7 separate regions of the Homo sapiens genome follow, and regions 2, 3, 4, 5, 6 and 7 are each linked to region 1. The links are contacts of gene promoters, found by promoter capture Hi-C in blood cells and fetal thymus (Javierre and others, 2016). All regions are on one chromosome and are shown on one strand. Each heading gives the region's core, a stretch centred on a gene start or on the middle of the fragment in contact. The rest is flanking DNA. Distances are from core to core; before and after follow the strand shown.

Region 1 (3,348 bases), core at 600-3,099:
ACTGTCTGTCCACACTCTCAGCCCCAGGGAACTCCTGCGTCCCACGGCTTTAAACGCCTCCGTGGCGATCCCACCTCAGCTTTCTCTCCCGCCCTGGCCTCTTCCCTCAGTTCCAGGCTCATGAACCACGAAGCCTCCACTTTCCTGCCCAAACCCGAACTCTTGGCTTCTGCCCTCCTTGACCTGCTCAGCTGTGTCTCTGGTCCTCATATTCTCAGGGAATGCCCCAGCAGCTATGCCATCCTCCACCCCTCCAAGAGCCAAATCTCCATCAGGTCTAAAATCCTGCCACCCCCCTCCCCTTCTCCTCCAGCCCCCTGCTCACAGGTGTGCATGCCTCCCTCCTACACGGCGAGGACCCCCTGCCAGTCCCCCAGCTGCTGCCCCCGCTTCCTGATGGTCTGTCCTCCAGACAGGGGCAGTGGCTGCCTTGGTCATGCCAAGCAGGAGGCTGCTGTGTGCTGGGAGCTGTCAGGCTCGTCCTGAACAGGGAAGGGCCCATCCACCTCCCAAACCCAGTTTATGCAGTCCTTCGCAATGTCAGGCTCAGGGCCTGGCACCAGCCAAGCTCCCCACCCTTCCCACTGTTAAAATGGATAGGAGCAGGGCTAGGCCCAGCCTGTTGACTCTGGGCTTCCACCAGGAGAAGTGGTTCTGGCAGTAGAAACTATCGGGGCCTGGGAGAGGCGGGGGAAGAGAGAAAGGTGGCATGTTTCTTGCTTGCTCCCTCTACCAGCCTTGTCCAAATCCCCGCAGCCACCCTAATCCAGCCTGTCTAATGGAGCCCAAGCCGGCTCAGGCCCTCGGACGAGGAGCCTGCTAATCCCTGTGGCTAGGAGCTCACCACCTGTCTCCAGGACGCCCTTTGCTCTCTTGGCATCAGAGAGCCAAATCCTGGGCCTCGGATGGGGGGATGATAAAAGCATCTTTTGGCCAAGCCCCCTCACCTTGGCCTCCACGATGAGATGGGGAGTTAGGTGCAGAGAGCGTTGGCACAGTGAGCACCGCAGCTCGAGTGGCTGCCTCAGACCCAGAGCCCGAGGAGACTTTATACGGAGCCAGAACGACCCCGCGGGGTTCCATCCTCCCAAGCAATAGGCGGGAGTGGGAGCTGCGAGGAAAGCCGGCCCCTCCCCTCCCTCCATCCAAGGCAGTGTGGGCTGTTTGTTTCATGCCATTCTGGGTGTGAATCCTGATGCCCACACATGCCAGCTGCATGCACTTGGGCAACTCAACTCACTCCTCGAGGGCTGTTTCTCGACTGCAGGGTGTTGTAAGTTCGCTAATACTAAAGGCTTCTCCCTCCTGGCCCCTTCCTGCCCCTCGCTCTTCCTCCTCTTCCTTAGGCCCTCCCAGCTCAGGCAGCCCCTGCCCCCTGCAGGGTTCTGCAAGGAGAAAGCTGGGGAATACCTTAGGCAACTGCAGTCAGGAGCACTGGTGGCCAGGACAGAGACAGAGAGACAGAAAAGGGGTCAGGGACAGAGAGAGATAACCGCAGGGAGAGACAGGAAGGGACAGAGACAGAAAAGATTTCCAAGAAGAGGACAGAGGCAGAAAGCCAGGGACAGAGACTGAGAAACAGAGACCTAGAGGCAGAAGAAGACTGAGATAGAGATGGACAGAGATTGTGTCAGACACAGCCCCAGAGACAGCCAGACAGTCTGAGTCAGACGCAAACCAAAGACAAGAAAACAGGAAAACAGACCCAGAGATTGGGAGAGGGAGGGGAAGGAGATGCGGGGAGAGCCAGCACCGCCACCCCCCACACTCAGGAGGGGTCTCCACCCTCGGAGCGGTCTCTCATCCCTCCCTAGAATCCTTAAATCCTCTCTCGCTCAGGGCCTCGGCCGCATCTGTCACAGACTTGTCCTGAACCGACAGCGGCTGGCGCAGGTGACTGGCTTGGGGCGGGAGCCTGGGTGTGCGCTGGGGATGGACCCCGAGGAAGAGGGGCCAAGCTGTCGGGAAGCGGCAGGGCTGGAGGGGTGGAGGCAGTGGTCGGGCGGGACCCCGGGCGACAGGGTTCGGCGCTTGTAAGAGCGAGACGGAGGCCCGGGCAGGCCGGCTGAGCTAACTCCCCAGAGCCGAAGTGGAAGGCGCGCCCCGAGCGCCTTCTCCCCAGGACCCCGGTGTCCCTCCCCGCGCCCCGAGCCCGCGCTCTCCTTCCCCCGCCCTCAGAGCGCTCCCCGCCCCTCTGTCTCCCCGCAGCCCGCTAGACGAGCCGATGGCGCGGCCCCGGAGAGCCCGGGAGCCGCTGCTCGTGGCGCTGCTGCCGCTGGCGTGGCTGGCGCAGGCGGGCCTGGCGCGCGCGGCGGGCTCTGTGCGCCTGGCGGGCGGCCTGACGCTGGGCGGCCTGTTCCCGGTGCACGCGCGGGGCGCGGCGGGCCGGGCGTGCGGGCAGCTGAAGAAGGAGCAGGGCGTGCACCGGCTGGAGGCCATGCTGTACGCGCTGGACCGCGTCAACGCCGACCCCGAGCTGCTGCCCGGCGTGCGCCTGGGCGCGCGGCTGCTGGACACCTGCTCGCGGGACACCTACGCGCTGGAGCAGGCGCTGAGCTTCGTGCAGGCGCTGATCCGCGGCCGCGGCGACGGCGACGAGGTGGGCGTGCGCTGCCCGGGAGGCGTCCCTCCGCTGCGCCCCGCGCCCCCCGAGCGCGTCGTGGCCGTCGTGGGCGCCTCGGCCAGCTCCGTCTCCATCATGGTCGCCAACGTGCTGCGCCTGTTTGCGGTGAGGGCCGCGGGGCCGGGCTCGGTGTCCAGCGTCCCTCTCCCGTCCTCGCCCTGGGGTGGCCCAAGTCTCCTTCCTTTACTTCTTCTGAAAGAGTCTCCGTTTTAATCACTCGAATTCACACAGCGTCAAAGAAGCCCTGTCAGTTGAGCCCGACGCAGGCCTGAATCGGCTCCACCCAAACACTCCAGCCGCCCATGTCTACCCCGCCCCGCGAGGGCGCCCCTTCCCGGGCGGGTGCCACCTACGCCTCTGGCCGGTTGGCTGGGGAGGGCGGCCTGACTTCAGCCCCCATTTGCCAGCCTGCTCGGGTGCCCTTGTTCTGGGCACACCCCTGCAACCATACAAGGTGCTCCTGCCCCCTGGGCCTGCGGAGCGCTCGAGTGATATTGCAACTTTGAGTTTTGTTTGGAACCCGGGCCCTTCTTCCAGAGCAGCAACTGGGGCGTGTCCCTGGGCTGCTATGGGGGATGGATAGGCCTGAAAGGTCTGGTCTTTCTCTTTTTTGATCATTTAAATTTATTTTCAAAATGCCTTGAACTCTCCCTCAAGGGGCATCTGAGAGCAGGGCGGGGCGTTCCCTTCTGAGCTCTGGTCTCCTGCACCCTGCCCTGCGCAGG
Region 2 (3,348 bases), core at 444-2,943, 490 kb before region 1:
TGCTCCATTTACCTGCTATGGTAGCACATGAATGCTACCACTCCTTACATGACATGGAGGGGCCTGGGGAGAAACCCTGGGGACGAGGAATCTCTCTACAATGCTTTCCGACTGCAAAGGTTGAGGGCCACTTTCCCACTGGCTTCCTCAAGAGCGGTCCTTGTCATCGCCATGCAGTGCATGTTGATTCAAACACTATGTGAGTCACTTCAGGCTCACAGAGCAGCTGGTGCCTCAGAACCAGGGCTCCGTATCCTCGAATCGAAGCGTGAGATTGTTTATCCCTTTCAAGGGAGCAAACCATTAGTGGGGCAATACCTTGTTCCAGACACGGTGAAGAGGGGGCGGCAGGGCTGAGAAGAGAAGCCCAGCTTCCCGAGGCTCTGCTCAGCTGCCTTCTGCCCACCCAGTGGCCCTGCCAGCTGTGTTCGTCTGGCTCCTCAAGCAGCGATGCTGTGTGCGGTTTCCATGGCAGTGGGCCCCGGAGGGCAGCCGGGGACACAGCCAGGTGGCTCGCAGCTCACCTGACTGGCTGTTGGCAGGAGGCAGGCGGCCTCCTTCTGCTCCTCTGTTCCTGGAGCTTTCAGAATGTCTTCAGTTACTCCCTTTAGGAGTCTGATCTCTGTGTGAGAGAAACTTAAAGTTCTGGGCTTATAAAGGGTACACTTTATCTCCGAGCGATTGCCTGGCAGTCATGCAGAATGCCAGGGCGGAAAAGTACCGGGAAAGCGCACATCTCTGCAAGGGAGGCTGGAACTCAGGGGCCCAGCTTCCCACGGTGGGCAGCAAGAGCACGCTTTGCACAGAGGAAAGACAGGCTCCGCCTGCAAGGGCCACAGGATGACCTTCACAGGGCCATTGGCACCCGGCCCTTGGGGCTCAGGGTCTGGCATCTTTGATTCATGAACTCAAGAAAACTGTGTGGGTCAGAGTTGCCTCCTGCAGCACACAACTGCTGGCTTACTCACTGTCTTCGCTCCAGGGAGGACTCATCACAGGGTTATTAGGAATCCAGAATCTAGTGGGGGAAACAAAAGCTCTCAAACAGAGAAGAAGTCAAAGTCAGGTCCAAGTTCACGTTGAGCCTTTTCAGCAAGTGCTTCCTGCTCCAAGTTGTAGGCTGTGGCTGCTGAGCTCCCAGCCTGGGGTACTGGGCAAGCCAGGCATGGGGCTCGGCCCTCAGGGTGGGTTCTGGCAGACCACAGGCTTTATGCGAGGAGCTAACACTTAAAAGAATTGCTTGACAGGGATGGAGAGAAAGGCCTGGGGCCAAGGACTCAGGCTCTGTCTCCAGAAATGAAGATGTTCCAGCAGTTTCCATCCAATAGAGACATGAATGTTGGGTCCGCTGGAACACGAGACAGAGCAAAGCTCTTCCTATCTGCTTAGGACCCTAAAGAAATGGCCCTGGGGCCACCTGTTCTTCTAGACTTGTTGAAGGATCAACAGCGGAGTGAAACATATTTTAGTATCAAGCACCACCGGGAAACAAAAAATAAAACTCACTGGGCCGGGCGCGGGGTCTCACGCCTGTAATCCCAGCACTGTGGGAGGCTGAGGCGGGCGGATCACGAGGTCAGGAGATCAAGACCAGCCTGGCTAACAGGGTGAAACCCCGTCTCTACTAAAAATACAAAAAATTAGCTGGGCGTGGTGGCGGGCGCCTGTAGTCCCAGCTACTCGGGAGGCAGAGGCAGGAGAATGGCGTGAACCTGGGAGGTGGGGCTTGCAGTGAGCGGTGATCACGCCACTGCACTCCAGCCTGAGTGACAGAGCGAGACTCCATCTCAAAAAAATAAAAAAAATAAAAATAAATAAAACTCACTTGAAGACCACACACGAGACAAAAGCAGATTTCGTTTTCTTAAGGGGCAACATCTTTTTTGCGCTAATCACCTACCATTAAATCATGAACAAAGACAGTGAAATTCCTGTTGGTAACCCCCAAACTAATTAAGTACATTTCTTGGGTTCTGTATTATGAGCAGTTAGAGGAGACGGAGAGGGAGGGGTAAGTCCATTCAATCGCACTGCAGGAAAACAGTTTTGAAGTACTTACTAGGTTTTAGGTTCCAAAGTAGGAACTGAGAGACCTAGCCCATGTCCCCAGTGGCTGGGGTTTGCTGGGCATTCAGGAAAGCAAGCGGCCAGCCAGTAGGTAGATGGAGGCCCAATGCCCTGGTCCTGGGGCAGCGGCTGGAATGAGAGGGCCGGCCGGCATGGGGGTGTGGACTCCATGTTGCCCACAGAAGAGGCCTTTAAACAGGACAGATGGGATTCTCAGAGACCACCCTGGCTGGTGGCTGGGGCAGGGGAGATGAGACTGTCATGGAGACAGAGAATCTAGTGAGACGTCTGCAGTGGAAAGCCAGAGGGCAAACAGTGGAGGTGTGAGTGGAGGGTGGGTGCGAATTCTCAAAACCCCTGGGCTGGCCCAATGCCTGGGTATAGGAGGAGAGAGAGGGAGGAGCCTGGCCAGACTCCGCAGCTTCTGGCCTGGGCAGCAGCAAGGAAGACCATGCCATTCACCAGGATGAGGACTGGGAGGGCGCCTCGGGGGGTGTGTTGGTGTAGGATAGTGGGAAAGAGAATGATGAGTTTGAATTTAATTGATTTTATTAGGTAGTGTATTGGTCAGGGCTCTACCACAGAAACAGAAGCAGTATGTATATCCATATATACAGAGAGAGAGAGATGCATTGCAAGGAACTGGCTTCCCCAAAGGTGGGGCTGTCAGGGCAAGTCAGGAATCCGTAGGCCAGGGCACTGGAAGGGCAGGCGGGAACTCTCTGGCAGGCGCCGACGCTGCAGTCCAGACAGGGTTTCTCCTTCCTCAGGGAAGCCTCAGTTCTGCTCAAGGCCTTTCATCCTATTGGATGAGGCTGACCCAGGTTACCAAGGATAATCTCCTTTTCTTAAAATTGGCTGACTGCAGACGTGATTTGCATCTACAAAATGCCTTACAGAACACCTAGGCTAGTGTTGAGTTTGTTAGAATCAATTAAAATGAAGACCAGGTCTGAAGAATCCTTGAGCAGACAAAGCCAGTTAGGCCTATATGCGACCTTCACCTTGTTTGATTTGCAAACATAAGTGAAACTTAACTTGAGCTATTTCTTATAAATGTCTATGTTAAAGAGAAACAGAACTTAAGCTCAACTAGTCAGAATCAGCCAAAAAACTTCTCATTATATAACTAAGGACTTTCCAGTGGGATAGACCAAATAAGGCAACTTATAATTATAACCAATTAAATATTTTCTCAGCATCTCTTCCACATTTACCCTAAAACATCTGTGCCTCTGCGTCCTCAGTGCAACCCTCCAACCACCTCTGGTTTGGAGCTGC
Region 3 (3,348 bases), core at 511-3,010, 460 kb before region 1:
TTTAGCTAGTCTTGTGCTGTAAGCCGAGGTGGTCTCTAATCTTGCACAGGTGTTGTAAGCATCTCTGTGCACTGTCCTTGTTTAGTCAGAACTCCTGGGTTCCAAATGACAGAGACGACCTGAGCTTGCCAAGGGAAAACTGGAGAGTTACTGGTTTCTATGCCTTCTGGGGAGAAGGCCCGTGCTCAGCAGCCCTGTGTGCCTGTGTGTGCCAATTTCATTGTGTCCTGGCCAGAACTTTCTTATTCTTTGCTAATTTGGTGGATATAAAACAGGACTTCAACGGTGCTTTAACAATAGCAAGGGGTGCATGTATTTGGGTTGCCTGGTCCAGGCTCCTTCCCCATTGGTAATCCACAGTGTTTATTCCCTGGTTCGCTGCCCATGGGGGCTGCCTCCTGACGCTGTTGGGGAAAGGAGGAGGAGGTCCCGGCTTGCACACAGATTCCCTGTTTCTCAAGAATATACAGCATGCTCTCCCACTGTGCAGCCAAGGACAAGGTGTTCTGTGCGGCGCCACGGGGCAGTCTCTGTTTCTGCAGGCTGCCCAAGAGGGGCCGGGGAAGTGATAAGTGAAAATCCATCACAACTTCTAGAACCAGCTCCAAGGACACACTCAGCGGCTGGGGCACCAGCAGGACTCGGTAAAACTCAGCAATGCTTCAGCACAATGATTACATTTCAGCCCCATAGTCCTCGCTGGGGAAGGGCTTTGGAGGACAGCTTACAAAAAGCCTGAGGACTGTTGGAAAGGAATTTTCGTAGGGGGAGGAGAAGGGGAAGGAAACTTGGGCTTTGCCTGAAACCCAGTGGACCAGGTTTCTCCCCTCTGTGGAGTGTCCGAGTAGTGGGCGCATCCCCGGGGGTTTATTTTCTTTGTTTGAACAAACCACGAGCAAACATGGCAAGTGGTCCTGGGGGTGCGGAGAGTGTAAGTCAGTGTGTTTTACACAGGTTTATGTATTGTATTATACAAGGGATGTTGGTCTACACCAATAAAAAGCCTTTGAATTTGAGGAATTTCCATTTGATTCATTTTCCCCAAATCTTCGCAAGAGGAGGATGATTTTTGCAAAAGGGGGATGAACAGAAAGGTTATTCCATTAGTCATTTTTCTCCTTATTAGAGTATTGGGTTTCATCTCCGAGAATGAGCGGCACACGCCCTGGGACTCAGGTATGTTGGGATGTCGAGAACCCCTTTGCAAGAGGCACCAAGGAGATTTGGTGGGAAAAATGAATCCTCCCTCTAACATGAAACTTCCTCTGCTCTGGTTTCTCTTATAAGTTTGATATAATTTGCTGTTTTCCAGAAATCCTCAAAATATATGGCTCACCAAGAGCATGATTCTCATATCCCCATGCAGCTGGGGGAACTTATTCCCTCGAAAGTGATGTATTATCTGGCCATTTCTTAGCTATTTGGGGAGTGAAGGATATGATACAAATATGGTCCCTCATCATGAATTGGACATCTCTGAATCATTTAGCTTTTTTTTTTTTTTTTTTTTTGAGACGGAGTCTTGCTCTGTCACCCAGGCTGGAGTGCAGTGGCGTGATCTCGGCTCACTGCAAGCTCCACCTCCTGGGTTCACACCATTCTCCTGCCTCAGCCTCCCAAGTAGAGGGGACTACAGGCACCCGCCACCACACCCGGCTAATTTTTTTGTATTTTTAGTAGAGACAGGGTTTCACTGTGTTAACCAGGATGGTCTCGATCTCCTGACCTTGTGATCTGCCTGCCTTGGCCTCCCAAAGTGCTGGGATTACAGGCGTGAGCCACCATGCCTGGTCTGAATCATTTAGTTTTAAAAATTTGATCCATCAGGACTTTGAGTGAAAGGAGTATAGCTGTGACCTGGCATTAATAATAATAATAGGCCAGGCACTGTGGCTCACGCCTGTAATCCCAGCACTTTGGGAGGCCAAGGCAGATGGATCACCTGAGGTCGAGAGATCGAGCACAGCCTGGCCAACATGGTGAAACTCCATCTCCACTAAAAATACAACAATTAGTCAGGCGTGGTGGCACGCACCTGTAATCCCAGCTACTTGGGAGGGTGAGGCAGGAGAATTGCTTGAACCCAGGAGGTGGAGGTTGCAGTGATCCTAGATTGTGCCACTGCACTCCAGTCTGGGCGACAAGAGCAAAACTCCACCTCAAATAATAATAATAGTAATAATAATAAATCATTAACCAATCAACTTTGTAGTCTTCTCAATGCTCTTTATTGAAAGATCTATGTTTGGCCAGGCGCAGTGGCTCACGCTTGTAATCCCAGCACTTTGGGAAGCCGAGGTGGGCGGATCACCAGGTCAGGAGATTGACACCATCCTGGCTAACATGGTGAAACCCCGCCTCTACTAAAAATACAAAAAAAGTAGCCAGACATGGTGGCGAGCGCCTGTAGTCCCAGCTACTCGGGAGGCTGAGGCAGGAGAATGGCGTGAACCCGGGAGGCGGAGCTTGCAGTGAGCCAATATCGTGCCACTGCACTCCAGCCTGGGTGAGACTCCATCTCAAAAAAAAAAAAAAAAAAAAGAAAGATCTATGTTTGCCCACTGATTTGACATTCCTCCCCCGTTGTGTACTAAATCCCCGTTTATACTTAGCCTATTTTGGAACTCCGTCTTCTGTCCCGGGCCCTCCCTCTCAGCAGCGGGGCCACTCCCTGGAAGGGAGTGCTGGTCCTGCTCTGTTACTTCTCTTTTTCAGAAATTTCCTGGATCTAACTCTGTTTTCATTCTGATACGTTGACATTTAAGTCTCTTACCCTTCCAAAAAAGCAAAAACAAGAGGAAAAAAATAGAAAACACTATCTTAAACCAAACAAAAAACCAACCAACCAACTGAACAACAAGTCAAAGCACAAAACCTCAAACCCAAACAAACCTTTTTAGGACTTTGATCAGGATCGAATTAACCTTGTAGCCAACATGGGAAGAACTGAGATCCTTATTAGTGTGCTAAGACTGCCGTAACAAATGACCGCAAACTGCGCGTCTGAAGACAGTAAGAATGTATTTTCTCACAGTTCTGGAGGCTGGAGTCCAACGTGAAGGTACTGGAAGCCCATGGTCTTTCTGAAGGTCCTAGGGGTGAATCTGGTCCATGCCTTTCTCTTGGCTTCTGATTTTGCCGGCAACCCTTGGTGTTTTCTGACCTGCAGACACATCACTCCAATCTGTGTCTCCACCTTCACACAGCATCTTCCCTGGTGTTTCTCTGTTTCTTGTCCTTGTCTTATGAGGACACCAGTTGTGTCAGATTAAGGACACATCCTGCTGTACTAAGACCACATCTTAAATTACATGTGCAATGACCCTGTTTCCTAATAAAGCCACACTC
Region 4 (3,348 bases), core at 595-3,094, 400 kb before region 1:
TCTTTTCTATCACATTGTCAGACTGCAAATTTTCCAAACTTTTATGCTCTGCTTCCCTTTTAAACATAAGTTCCAATTCCAAACCATCTCTTTGTGAATGTGTAAAACTGAACACTTTTAAGAGAACCCAGATCACCTCTTGAATGCTTTGCTGCTTAGAAATTTCTTCCGCCAGATACTCTAAATCATCTCTCTCAAGTTCAAAGTTCCACAGATCTCTAGGGCAGGGGCAAAACACCACGATTCTCTTTGCTAAAAGCATAGTAAGAGTTACCTTTATTCCAGTTCCCAACAAATTTCTAATCTCCACCTGAGACCACTTCAGCCTGGACTTCATTTTCTATACCACTATCAGCATTTTGGTCAAAGCCACTCAACAAGTCTCTAGGAAGTTCCACACTTTCCCATATCTTTCTGTCTTCTTCTGAGCCCTCCAAACTGTTCCAACCTCTGCCTGTTACCCAGTTCCAAAGTCAATGCCACATTTTCGGGTATCTTTTCAGCTGCACCCCACTCCCAGTACCAATTTACTGTATTAGTTTGTTCTCACGCTGCTATAAAGAACTGCCCAAGACTGGGTAATTTATAAAGGAAAGAGGTTTAATTGACTCACAGTTCTGCATGGCTGGGGAGGCCTCTGGAAACTTACAATCATGGTATAAAGGGAGGCAAACAGGTCCTTCTTTACATGGTGGCAGGAGAGAGAAGTGCCAGCAGGGGAAATATCAGATGCTTATAAAATCATCAGATATCATGAGAACTCACTCACTATCATGAGAACGGCACAGGGAAAACCACCCCCATGATTCAATTACCTGTGACCATGTCCCTCCCACAACACGTGGGGATTATGGGAACTATAATTCAAGATGAGATTTGGGTGGGGACACAGCCAAACCATATCAGGCCCCATTTCTGTCACTACAGCAGCATAAGATGGAGCTGCATGGAGCATGCCTTGTTTGTTCAGATGATGCTTGACTCACAAGCCTGGGAGCCTGAGGTACCAAGCCTGAGGCTGAGGGGGGGTCACCCTATTGCATCTGTGGCAGGCCACACCAGTCACCTTCATTTGGACCAAATAAGGAGTTGGAGCAGATGGTAATTGGTGTCTCCCTCCATTCCCTTCCCTTCCCTTCTTCCTTCCTTCTGTCATTCCCTCTCTCTGTCTTTCTCTTTCTTTTTTTCTTTATCCCTGCACCCCAATAAAGAACCTTAAAAATGAAAGTGTCTGTCCTAAGAGCACATAATGCAACTGGCCCACATGTACATGGTCAGAAGGATTGGGGGACTGACCTTCACCCCATTTGATTCTCTAGCTCAGTTTGCAAACTGGTAGTGTGTGAGTCACATTCAGTCAACAAACATGCTTTATTTGGCCTATATGATTTTTTTTTTTTTTTTTTTTTGAGACAGAGTCTCGCTCTGTCCCCCAGGCTGGAGTGCAGTGGTGTGATCTCGGCTCACTGCAAGCTCTGCTTCCTGGTTCACGCCATTCTCCTGCCTCAGCCTCTTGAGTAGCCGGGACTACAGGTGCCCGCCACCATGCCTGGCTAAGTTTTTAGTAGAAACGGGGTTTCACTGTGTTAACCAGGATGGTCTCAATCTCCTGACCTTGTGATCTGCCTGCCTCGGCCTCCCAAAGTGCTGGGATTACAGGCATGAGCCACCACTCCTGGCCTTTTTTTTTTTTTTGAGACAGAGTCTCACTGTGTTGCCCAGGCTGGAGTGCAGTGGCACCATCTTGGCTCACTGCAAGCTCCACCTCCCAGGTTCAAGCCATTCTCCTGCCTTAGCCTCCCGAGTTGCTGGGACTACAGGCACCCGCCACCATGCCTGGCTAGGTTTTTTTTTTTTTTTTTTGTATTTTTAGTACAGACAGGGTTTCACCATGTTAGCCAGGATGGTATCTATCTCCTGACCTTGTGATCCGCCCACCTCGGCCTCCCAAAGTGCTGGGATTACAGGCGTAAGCCACTGCACCTGGCCTATGATGTTTTTAAAAATCAAGTATATTAGGATATAGTTTACATGTAATAAAATGCATTGATTTTTAAGTGCACAGTTCAGTGAGTTATTATATATGTATACACACACACACACACACACACACACACACACATATATATATATATATATAATTAGTCTGTTTTCATGCTGCTGATAAAGACATACCTGAGACTGGGAAGTAAAAGTTGTTTAATTGGACTTATAGTTCTACATGGCTGGGGAGGCCTCAGAATCATGGGGGGAGGTGAAAGGCACTTCTTACATCGTGGTGGCAAGAGAAAATGAGGAAGAAGCAAAAAGCAGAAACCCTTGATAAACCCAACAGATCTCATGAGGCTTATTCACTATCACAAGAATAGCACAGGAAAGACCAGCCCCCATGATTCACATACCTCCCCCTGGGTCCCTCGTACAATACGTGGGAATTCTGGGAGATACAATTCAAGTTGAAATTTGGGTGGGGACATAGCCAAACCATATATATATATATATATATATATATATATATATATATATATATATATATATATATATACACTATAAACATACACACTTATGTAACCACCACCTCAATCAAGATAAAGAAACCTCCCTCATCCAGGAAGCTACCTGTGCCACTTCCCAGTCTATTCTCCTCCCTGGCAGCAGAACTGATTCCTGGGACATCGACCACTCCAGCTCAGTGCCCCCTGACTCAGAACGTCATGGAAATGGACCCTAGAGTACTCTTTGTGCCTGGCTTCTGTCACTCAACATAATGTCTGTCATCTGGGTTGCATGCCACATTTTTTTATTGCTTATAATTATTCCTCTGTATAAAAATGCCACAATTTATCTGTTTAAATGATGACAGACATTTGTATTATTTCCAGTTTTTGGCTATTATGAATAAAGCTCATATGAAAATTCTTGTGCATGTATCTTTATGAACACATGCTTTCATTTTCCTTGGTTAAATACCTAGGGGTAGATTGCTGGCTCATAGAGGGGGTGTGTTCAATTTCTTAAGAAATTGTCAAACTGTTTCTTGAAATGTTTGCACCATTTTCCACTCCACGCATTGTATGACAGTATCAATTGCTGTATATCCTCTCCAATATTTGGTATTTTCAGTCTTTTAAATTTTAGCCATCCTGGTCGGTATGTGGTGATAATTCTTCATTGTTTTCACTTGAATTTCACTGATGAACATGTTGAACATCTTTTCATGTCCTTATTGGCCATTCATGTATCTTTTTTCATGGAATGTCGGTTCAAATATTTTGCCCATTAAAAAAAATTGAGTTGTTTGTCTTCTTACTGTTGAGTTGTGAAAGTTTTGTGTGTATTCTGGATGCA
Region 5 (3,348 bases), core at 219-2,718, 380 kb before region 1:
ATCTTGTGGAGAAACTTCCCTACCACGGCGGCCTTGGCAGTCGGTCCTGCTCCTGATGAGGTGATAGAGAACAGCACCTGAGATGATTAGAGGAGAGGGCCCTGACATCCTCTGTGCCCTCTGCCCTGGCATCCTCTGTGCCCTCTGCCCTGACATCCTGAGTCCTCTGCCCCGACGTCCTCTGTGCCCTCTGCCCCAACGTCCTCCGTGCCCTCTGCCCCGACGTCCTCTGAGTCCTCTGCCCTGACGTCCTGCGTGCTCTCTGCCCCAATGTCCTCTGAGTCCTCTGCCCCGACGTCCTCCGTGCCCTCTGCCCCGACGTCCTCTGTGCTCTCTGCCCCGATGTCCTCTGAGCTCTCTGCCCTGATGTCCTCTGAGTCCTCTGCCCCGACGTCCTCCGTGCCCTCTGTCCCGACGTCCTCTGTGCCTTCTGCCCTGACGTCCTCCAAGTCCTCTGCCCCAACGTCCTCCGTGCCCTCTGCCCTGACGTCCTCTGAGTCCTCTGCACCGACGTCCTCTGTGCCCTCTGCCCCAACGCCCTCTGAGTCCTCTGCCCTGACGTCCTCCTTGCTCTCTGCCCTGACGTACTCTGTGCTCTCTGCCCTGACGTCCTCCAAGTCCTCTGCCCTGACGTCCTCCAAGTCCTCTGCCCGGACGTCCTCCGTGCCCTCTGACCTGAAGTCGGGGCCGCCTGACTGGACCATGACTCTCCACCTATGCCTGGCTGCCGAACAGCGTGAGGGCACTTCTGAGGGGGCAGAGAGTCCCTTGATGGGCCTGCCGCAGCCCTGGGCCTGGTGTGTCTCCCTTTGTCCCTGCTGGCCTCATCCATCTGACTGCATGCCTTCTGTACCCTGTGTCCTGGCTCCCTGCCTCGGCCCCTCTCTTGCAGTGGGACAGGGCACACACCCTGGACCCCGACGCTGATTGGCTGGGTGCAGACCTCGTACCCCAACACCCACAGCCCTGCCCTGTTCCCAGCTCCCAGAACACACCCTGGTCTCCTTCCTAGGGATTGAGACTCAGAATATGCAGCGTCCTCGTGAGCCACCTAGATGTCCTACTCACCCAGGCCTGTGGGGCCCTGCTCTCAGGCACCCCTTGCCAGGGTGTCCTCCTGTGTGAAGGAGCCTGCCTGCTTGGGGTGTGGAGCCACCCCAGGCTCCAGCTTGTGAGCTGGTCCATGAAAATTTGGTGCCTTCCTGGAGAGAGAAGCCTGCCGGCTTGGTAAGTGGGCTCAATCATGTGTTCCCTGGGGAGCCCTCCAGAGTCTGTCTGAATTGGAGAGGGAGCTCAGGTTATGGGAACCCATCTTGGCGGCCTGGCAGAGCCGTGGGCGTTTGAATTAGGATTCTTGGCTGCAACTGTCAGAAGCTGGCTCAGACCAGCTGACGGGCTCTTAGAACCAAACTGTTGCTGCGTCCAAGGGGCCCCGGCAGTAGGCGCAGCATGTCCAGACCCTCTCTCGTCCACTTCTGGGGCCTGGCCCAGGCCAGCTTCTTCCCCTCTAGGCTCCCGACAGTGGCAGACCCTCGCTTCAGAGCCGCTCCTCCAAGAGGAAATGTGCCTCAAGCCTTAGGTCCAGTCGGAAAGCACTGGGGAAGGATGCTGATTGGTCCGGCTTGGGCCGAACGTCCAATCCTGCCGCAGGAGGTGAGGCACTGCATTTGATTGACAGCTCTCCGCCCTACCACTGCGAGAGTGCGCAGCGTCCCAAAGAGGGCGAGGGGTGGTGTGGACAGCTCTGTCCCTTATCGAGGGGGAGCACTGAGGTTCCTGGCATGTGGTCGAGACCCTCCTCACAGCTGTTCAGGTGTGGGACGGGAAGACAAAGAAGACCACTGGTCTCACAATTTGGGACACAGCAGAAGCCCACGCTCCTGGTGCCGGCGTTGACATGTGCTAGCAATGACGGTGCCCCCATAATGGACAGGCCCTGTGCCAGGCGCTTTAAATGAACAATACCGAATAGGCCTGAACCTTCCCACAGGTATGACTATTCCTATTTTTAATAGGAGGAAACTGAGGCTCAGAGACTTAAAGTGACTGTAAGAGGCCAAAAAATTACCAGCCTGGCAGAGCTATAGCTGAGTCAGGGTCTGCCCAGCTCCAAAACCTGGGCCCTTCCTCCAAAAACGCTGCCACCCACAGACAAGGCCAAATAGAAAGAGAAGACTCTTCAAAATACAATGTGATGGAAACAAAACAACACACCGTAAATGTAAAACAAGAAAAATATGCCAGATGAAATGAGCCAACAGCTTCCTCAATCAATGGGCGAGATAAAACAGGAAAGGAGCTACAAAGATTTCTGAAAAGTTAAAAGTCGGGGAGTAAAGAGCACTAGCAACGGAGCAAACAAGGCCAAGGAAACTGAAATAGGGGACCTGAACATACGTGAGCCCAGAGCCTCGGGAAGGGCTGGAGCTGTGCGGTCTCCGGGAGTCTGGAGCTGGGCTCCGGCCTCCTGCTCCCCTTCCCCGGGGCCCAGGGCTGGCAGCCCCACACTGGCAAGGGGCTCAAGGAAGTTCTCACAGCCCGCCAGGATCCCTGGCTCTGGAATTGGGCACCCTGACCACACAAGCTGATGACACAGGGAGCGGATACACTGGGCTCTTGCCCAGGTCTGGGTTCAGTGCCCACTTCTGTAGCTGATCTAGGTGAATGAGGATGATGCTTTCCTGGTTCAACTACTTGGCATCTCCATGAAGGATCCTGCACATGCATCTGCTTACAGACTCCTGTCAAATCATAACTGCTCACATGGCAGACAGGCTCCCTGCAGTTTTCCCTGATCTAAGAGGATTAACTAGGAGGGCAGCAGACCTGGGGGCCTGTGGTGGTGGGTGGGGTCTTTAACCTGGATCCCATTCTCAGCCTCCCCCACAGGGGTCTGTCTCTGGCCCAGGAGGCCTGCCCAGCCCATACCAGCCTGGGTGGAGGCTGCAGGTTCAGTGGCTCCTGAGTCAAGCTGGGACTAGCTGGGCTGTGGTGTCTGGGAGCAGTATCTTCTCAGGAGCTTGCAGACAAGGGGATGTGCGTGTTGTTGCTGGGATACCGTAGCACTCTGGGAAGCTTGGCCCAGCTGCTCACTGGCAATGGCATTGATTTTTACCAAAGGGCTGTGCCATCTGTGTGGCCCTGCGGCTCCTGTGTCTGGGCAGGCCTGGGGCCTGGGGAGCAGGGGCTGGTTGCCAGGGGGCCAGAGAGCTCAGCTCTGAGCTGAGCATTGAAAGGGAGGCCTCTGCGGGGCTACAGTCCTTGGAGGGCAGCTCCTCTCTGGCCACCACTCCCTCACTCAGCACTCTCTCTGTGCCAGGCATTGGGAATGGTGCAATCAACTGCTAT
Region 6 (3,348 bases), core at 582-3,081, 310 kb after region 1:
CCACCTGCCTCGGCCTCCCAAAGTGCTGGGATTACAGGCTTGAGCCACTGTGCCCGGCTGACTTTTTCCTATATTTTTCTTAAAGTTTTATAGTTTTACATTTTGCATTTAAGTCCCTGGTACATTTGAGTTAAATTGTGATTAAGGTTTGTGAAGTTTAGGTTAAGGTTCATTTTGTGTGTATGTGCCTGTGAATGTCCAGTTGCTCTTCTCTGAAGAGGCTATCTTTTCTGCGTTGAATTTCTTTTGCATTTTTGTGACAAATTAGGTGGGCATATTTGTGTGGTTCTTGTCATGGGTTCTCTACCTTGTTCCATTGGTCTGCACTCTGCTAATATCACACACCCTTGTTTACTATAGCTGTATAAGTTATTAAATCATATAAATTAATTCTTCCTACTTTGTTCTTTGATTGATTTTTCAAACATTGAACCAGCCTCATATCTCTGGAGTACATCAATTGTCCATCATATAATTTTTTCATCTATTATTGATGTATTAGTAATGTTTTATTAATGATTTCTGCATCAGTATTCAAGAAAGATGCTGTTTTACAGTTTTGTTGTACTGTCTTTTTCTGGTTTTGGTATCAGGATAATACTAGCTTCATAAAGTCCATTTGCAAGTGAAATAAGCTAGCCACAGGAAGATAAATACTGCATGCTCTCACTTATATGTGGAATCTAAAATAGTCAGACTCATAGAAGAGAGTAGAATGGTGGTTTCCAGGGCTGGAGGGAGGGAGAAGTGGGGGGATGGGGGGATGCTGGTCATGAGTGTAAATTTCCGGTTACTCAAGATGAGTAAGTTCTGGAGATGGAATGTACAGCATGGTGACTATAGTTAACACTATTGTATTTTATACCTGAAATTTGTTTAGAGGGTAGATCTTAAGTGTTCTCATCTTACACACACACACAAAGGTTAACTATGTGAGGCGATAAATATGTTAACTGACTTGACTATGGTGCTCATTGCACAATATATACATATATAAAAAATCAAGTTTTAAAATCGATACCTTTTTTTGAGACGCAGTCTCGCTCTGTCACCCAGGCTGGAGTGCAGTGGCGCGATCTCGGCTCACTGCAAGCTCTGCCTCCTGGGTTCACACTGTGACATGGGGCTGGAGAGTTGATCTAAACTGAGGGAGGACAGTGAAGGTGTCCCTGGCCAGCTGAAGGCAAACTGCTTCAGGTGGGCCTTCTGGACAGGGATGGAGAAAAAGGTGTGTGTCAGATCAATAGTTACATACCATGTACCAGGATATGTGTTAATTTGCTCAAGCAATGAAACAGCATCTGGTACAGCAACTGCAATTAGAGTTATCACTTGGTTAAGCTTCTGGGAATCCACCATCATTCTCCAGGATTCATCTGTCTTCTGCACAGGCCAGGAGAGTTGGACAAGGATGTGGGGTAGGAATCACCACCCCTCCATACTTCAAGTCTTTGATGATGGCACTCATCTATATCATTCCTCCAGGAAGGCAGTATTGGTGTGTTTTTTGTTTTAGTATTTTTCTAGGTAGAGATGGCTGTAACGCCTTCCATTTGTCCTTTCCCATCACAATTGCCCTCACTTTATAGCTCAGGGAACCCGTGTGGAAACTCTGCTAGCTGCTGAACACGTCTGTTCCAACTACACATCTGGACCCGGGAAATGACCAGAGAATGGGTTCCGGGACCCGCTGGGCCCACGGTGAGTTGGACCTGAGTTAAAGCTCCTGGTACCAAGATATGGAAAAACCTCTTTGACTGTCTTATTTCACTGGAAAACAGTATGGAGTTTACTCAAAAAAATTAAAAATAGAACTACCACATAATTCAACAGTGCCACTTCTGGGTATGTATCCAGGATCTGGAAGAGAGATCTGCATCTCACGTTCATTGCAGCACTATTCACAGTAGCAAAGATACGGAAACAATCTAAGTGTCCACTGACAGGTGAATGGATAAAAAGAAAACTTGACACACATACACACACAGCGGAATATTATTCAGCCACTTTAAAAAAGAAGTCCTGCCTATCAACAACATAAATGAACCTAGAGGGCACTATACTCAGTGAAGTGTGACAGAGACAGACAAATACTGTATGGTATCACTTATATATGGAATCTAAAAAGAAGAAACATTTCCAACTCATAGAAGCAGAGAGCAGAGCAACCTGGTGGTTGCCGGGAAGGGAGGTGGGGGAGGAAATGGAGAGATCTTGATCAAAGTGTACAAACTTTCAGTTATAAGATGAAGGAATTCTAAAGATCTAATGTACAGCACGGTGAGCATAGTTAATAATACTATATTTTATACTGAAGCTTGCTAAGAGAGTAGATCTGAAGTGTTCTCACCGAAAAAGGGAGGGGGTAAGTGTGGGAAGTATTGGGTAAGTGCTGTGGTTTGGATATTTGCCTCCAAATCTCATAATGTGAAATGCAATCCCCAGTGTTGAAGGTAAGGGCTAGTAGGTGTTTGGGTCATGGGCGTGGATCCCTCATTAATGGCTTGGTGCTGTCCTTGAGGTCATGAGTGAGTTCTTACTCTATTAGTTACCAAGAGATCTGATTGTTTAAAAGGGCCTGGCATCTCTCTCTTGCCTCCTCTCTTGCCATGTGACATGCCTGCTCCCTTTTTGCCTTCCACCAACAGTAAAGCCTTCCTGAGGCCTCCCCGGACTCCCAGCAGTTACTGGTGCCGTGTTAGTGCAGGCTGCAGAACTGTGGGCCAAATAACCTGTTTTCTGTATAAATTACCCATCCTCAGGTATTCCTTTACAGCCATGCGAAACAGACTAATGCAGCATGCTAATTAACTTTATCATGGTAATAACTTTATTTTATTATTTATTTACTTAGAGTCTCATTTTGTCACCCACGCTGGAGTGCAGTGGCACCATCTCAGCTAACTGCAACTTCTGCCTCCCAGGTTCAAGCAATTCTCCCATCTCAGCTTCCTGAGTAGTAGCTGGGATTAAAGGCACATGCCACCACACCTGGCTAATTTTTTGTATTTTTTTGGAGAGATGGGGTTTCGCTGTGTTGCCCAGGCTGATCTCAAACTCCTGGCCTCAAGTAATCCTCCCGCTGTGGCCTCCCAAAGTGCCGGGATTACAGGTGTGAGCCACCAGGGCTGGCCAGGGTAATCATTTTAAAGTGTTAACATATGTGAAATCATCAGTTGTACACCTTAAATAGATACAATTTTCTGTCAATTATGCCTCAATAAATTGAAGAAAATAATTTTTTTCTGGATATATTTTCTGAAAACTAAAGTGATTTAAGTTACATAAACAGAAAATAGTATCAAACTGAAAATAGACCCAAATTTTAACAGTTTTTATTTTACTAGA
Region 7 (3,348 bases), core at 376-2,875, 290 kb after region 1:
GAGGGAGACAGAAGCATTCCGATTAAGAGGAAACAGCATGCGCCAAACCACAGGTGGATAATAGGACATTTGGAAAACTTAATTTAGAACTAGTGAGCAGGAAAATGACAAATGTTAAAGCTCGAGTAGAAGGCAGAAGCCAAATCACAAAAGGCCTTATTTGCCAAGCTAAGGAGTTTGGATTTTATGGTAAAATCGGTGGAGTCAAAGATGGTAAGCAAGGGAAATTCCATAGAAGATAAGCGTATGGGGTTGAAGAAAGCTGATGACTGATGCCACCCAGGAAATCTGGGCTGTTTAAATTCAAGTAATAGGTAAATGAGGGTTCCAACTCAAACAGGGACAGCATTGATGGAGAACAGGAGACAGATAATCATGTATTAGAATAAATAAGGCATGGTTTTCATAGGCAAATAGGTGAGAGTGGCAAGTGAGGAGAAAGCTGACTCACAGGTAGGGTTGCCAAACGTCCTGTATTTAATGATTTTGTCCTGAATCCTGTATTAACTTTGTTAGGATGCCTTAAATGTATTCAGGGTTTCTCCCCTCATTAATGAAAAATCAGCACTTTGAGCTACGGTTCTGCTTCAGTAATTGGCGCTTAAATCGCTTAAGTGGCAATACAAGTTGGAAATCATACCTCCACAAATAAAGATCTGAACCATCTCTTATGTTTTATCCTATGTGTTTGACTGAGGGAAGGCAAAAGGGGGAAGTGAGAATAAAAGTACTTGTTTTCCGTATTAAAGAAAGGAAAAGACTGTTCTTTTGGCCAAATTCCTAAGTTGTAAAATAATCCCCAATAATTAGATCTTTGGATCAGTACACGTGGTCTGAAAAATCAATGATGGCCTCGCTGCCAGCAGCCATGCTTCTGAAATCAACTTCCTGACAGCCTCCAGCTTCTGAATGCCACTTGAGTGCTGCTTCTAGACCACGGTTGGTCAGCAAGTCCCTCCTTCCAGTGACCGTGCTTCTGGAAGTTAGCCAGTCGACAACCGTCTAATTCCAGTGACCACACTAACACGCTTGAAAATCTAACAGTCCATAAACATCCCTGCCTCTGAAAATTCGCCAGTCCCAGACACTGAGCTGCTTAAAATTTTGGATAAGATCAGCTCTGGCTTTCTTCAGGGATCCTGTTACTGCAAACACAGTTCTCCCTTGCAGGCATGCATCAAGTTCGACTTTTCTGTGTCACATATCAAGTTCAAGTTTATTGTTAGTTTGTAAGCTTCCAACCTTTCAATAGCTCAGCCTCAATTTATTGGTAATTATGCTTCACTCTTGTGAGTGAGATGATCGAAATTAGTATTTTCAATTATTGTTATTAACTTATTTTTTATTTTATATTTTGTGTTAAGGATACTTAATATGAGATCTACCCTATTGCCTATTTTCATTTATGTATATTTGAATCAAAATGCAAGTATAAGTTTCATGATTAATTTTTAAAATATTTGGTATCAGAGAAAAGATGTTTTGAAGCTCTTTCTACAGTACACAATTGTTCATTCAGTATTGAACATATTGGAAAGTCAGATATAAGGCAGGATATACTAACAGCTAAGCCTAAGTGATAGATGATTTCCTCAAATAGTGCTAAAGAAACGGATAAAGTAACAAATTTTCCGATGAAAGGAAATTCAGATAAAAATAAAACAACCATAGCAGAAATTGTAATGACTTTCCACACTCAATCTTTTCAGCTCAAATGACCAATGGAAACACACCAAAAGTATTTCCTGCTTCCAAAATTGCAAACGAATTTTCAAGTGCCAGGATAAAATCTGCAGTAATAAAAATGTAATCTTTCTGTTTACTATTAGAGACTATATAAAAGATCTAAAATGTCTCTTTTTACAGTATAACCCCAGATGCAAATAATCACAATGAGAATTTTTTTTTTTTTTTTTTTTTTTTTTTTTTTGCCTCTGCAATGTTTTTCTTTTGAAAACCTGTGCTTATAAAGCTATCTTATCCCTTCTAGATGAGACCTGGGAAATTGAAGCTTTTTGCAGAAACTAAATTGAGTTAATAAGTCAAATTGTATTCCTTTGGTTGATATAATACAAATACAAATTTATGTAGATGTGTAGAAGTGCAAACAATTTTTTTTTTTTTTTTTGAGACGGGGTCTCGCATTGTCGCCTGGCCTGGAGTGTAATGGTAAGATCTCGGCTCACTGCAACCTCCGCCTCCCGGGTTCAAGCGATTTTCATGCCTCAGCCACCCAAGTAGCTGGGATTACAGGCACCTGCCACCATGCCCGGCTAATTTTTTTTTTTTTTTTTTTTTTTTTTTTGTATTTTTAGTGGAGATGGGGTTTCACCATGTTGGCCAGACTGGTCTCGAACTCCTGACCTCATGATCCACCCGCCTCAGCCTCCCAAAGTGCTGGGATTACAGGAGTGAGCCACCGCGCCCCGCCAGAAGTGCAAACAATTGTTATTCAAAATTAAAGCAAAGCCTGAAGTAGGCTGTAGAAGGTGTCCTATCCATATTCTGCGTTTCTGCATGATGCTACACAGACAACCTCTGATAGCCATCCTATTGACACTGAAGTCATCATGAAATTGTTCCCTTCCTCGGCATTTAAACTGTTTAAACTGAGCAGTTAAAGGACTTTTGTGATTCTGTTGTCATTCGATATTCTTCTATTCTTCATTCTTCAATTCTCTCTTTCATTCTCTAGCACTCAGAAATTTGTTGGAACCCCCAGTTTCAACTACAACATGCAAACGGCTTGGAAGTAGTCACCCCTATCCTTATAAGAAAAAGCTAGTCAAGCTGAAAAGCAGTGACTTTTATCTTTCTGAGAACTGAAGTCACAACTGTGAAATCTGGAGAGACGGGTGTATCCAGAGACACAGCTGAGATCTGTTTACTTGGAGCCCACTGGAGCCAAAACTGGTCGGAAAACTAACAGGTAATTTTGATGAATTGCTGGAGGTTGAATATGGACTAAACTGAGAATGTGGAACTTCTGGGTCCATAGTCATAACGGGTCCCGCATACCGCCACTGCCATTAGCTCCAGGAATCCCAGCAGATTCCCAAGGTCATGATCTGAGAAATATCCCCTGAGGGCTGTGGCAGAAGAAGGGGAATCATTGTGAAATACACCCAGAGTCTTCTCCATAAAAGCCGACACTCTAGGGAAAAAAAGCTTGCCAGAGTCTTATGCTAGCTGGAGGAAGGACATTCCCCATTCTCTCTATCCTTCCTGTCTCACCTAAGGGAGAGGAAACTGTCAACATGGCTCAACACTTTGAGGATTCCAGTAGATTGGAATCCTGCAAGCAGGAGAGGGAGGGCAGGGCAAGGAGGCAAAGTTATACCACTGGAG

What was found. Contacts are between HindIII fragments. The CHiCAGO score rates a contact against its expected background, and 5 or more counts as called.
Region 2: a fragment that was not itself captured here is called in contact with the fragment with the promoter of GRM6 in region 1 in 1 of 17 cell types (endothelial precursors); the score reaches 5.5 in endothelial precursors.
Region 3: a contact is called between a fragment that was not itself captured here and the fragment with the promoter of GRM6 in region 1, in 1 of 17 cell types (endothelial precursors). The highest score is 7.9, in endothelial precursors.
Region 4: a fragment that was not itself captured here is called in contact with the fragment with the promoter of GRM6 in region 1 in 1 of 17 cell types (endothelial precursors); the score reaches 5.1 in endothelial precursors.
Region 5: a contact is called between a fragment that was not itself captured here and the fragment with the promoter of GRM6 in region 1, in 1 of 17 cell types (endothelial precursors). The highest score is 5.9, in endothelial precursors.
Region 6: a contact is called between a fragment that was not itself captured here and the fragment with the promoter of GRM6 in region 1, in 4 of 17 cell types (megakaryocytes, erythroblasts, endothelial precursors and 1 more). The highest score is 6.3, in megakaryocytes.
Region 7: a contact is called between a fragment that was not itself captured here and the fragment with the promoter of GRM6 in region 1, in 7 of 17 cell types (erythroblasts, megakaryocytes, total CD8 T cells and 4 more). The highest score is 8.2, in erythroblasts.

Annotation. Positions count from the first base shown.
Region 1 is chr5:178,993,821-178,997,168 of GRCh38, reverse strand. GRM6 (glutamate metabotropic receptor 6) reads left to right here and starts at 1,849. Exons shown (of 11, transcript NM_000843.4): 1 at 1,849-1,893; 2 at 2,209-2,728. The coding sequence starts at 2,225. The HindIII fragment of the contact is 9,329 bases long and covers 1-3,348 here.
Region 2 is chr5:179,483,829-179,487,176 of GRCh38, reverse strand. No RefSeq gene overlaps it. Among named protein-coding and RNA genes, the nearest start is that of RUFY1, 65 kb to the left of the region's middle. The HindIII fragment of the contact is 5,936 bases long and covers 1-3,348 here.
Region 3 is chr5:179,457,123-179,460,470 of GRCh38, reverse strand. No RefSeq gene overlaps it. Among named protein-coding and RNA genes, the nearest start is that of RUFY1, 92 kb to the left of the region's middle. The HindIII fragment of the contact is 7,244 bases long and covers 1-3,348 here.
Region 4 is chr5:179,396,687-179,400,034 of GRCh38, reverse strand. No RefSeq gene overlaps it. Among named protein-coding and RNA genes, the nearest start is that of ADAMTS2, 53 kb to the right of the region's middle. The HindIII fragment of the contact is 9,996 bases long and covers 1-3,348 here.
Region 5 is chr5:179,371,640-179,374,987 of GRCh38, reverse strand. It overlaps LOC124901149 (a long non-coding RNA gene), which reads right to left and starts at 1,557. Exons shown (of 3, transcript XR_007059083.1): 1 at 1,069-1,557; 2 at 1-77. The HindIII fragment of the contact is 3,219 bases long and covers 1-3,077 here.
Region 6 is chr5:178,687,846-178,691,193 of GRCh38, reverse strand. No RefSeq gene overlaps it. Among named protein-coding and RNA genes, the nearest start is that of MSANTD5, 8.2 kb to the left of the region's middle. The HindIII fragment of the contact is 976 bases long and covers 1,344-2,319 here.
Region 7 is chr5:178,706,520-178,709,867 of GRCh38, reverse strand. It overlaps a transcript of MSANTD5 not described here. Among named protein-coding and RNA genes, the nearest start is that of MSANTD5, 10 kb to the right of the region's middle. The HindIII fragment of the contact is 777 bases long and covers 1,237-2,013 here.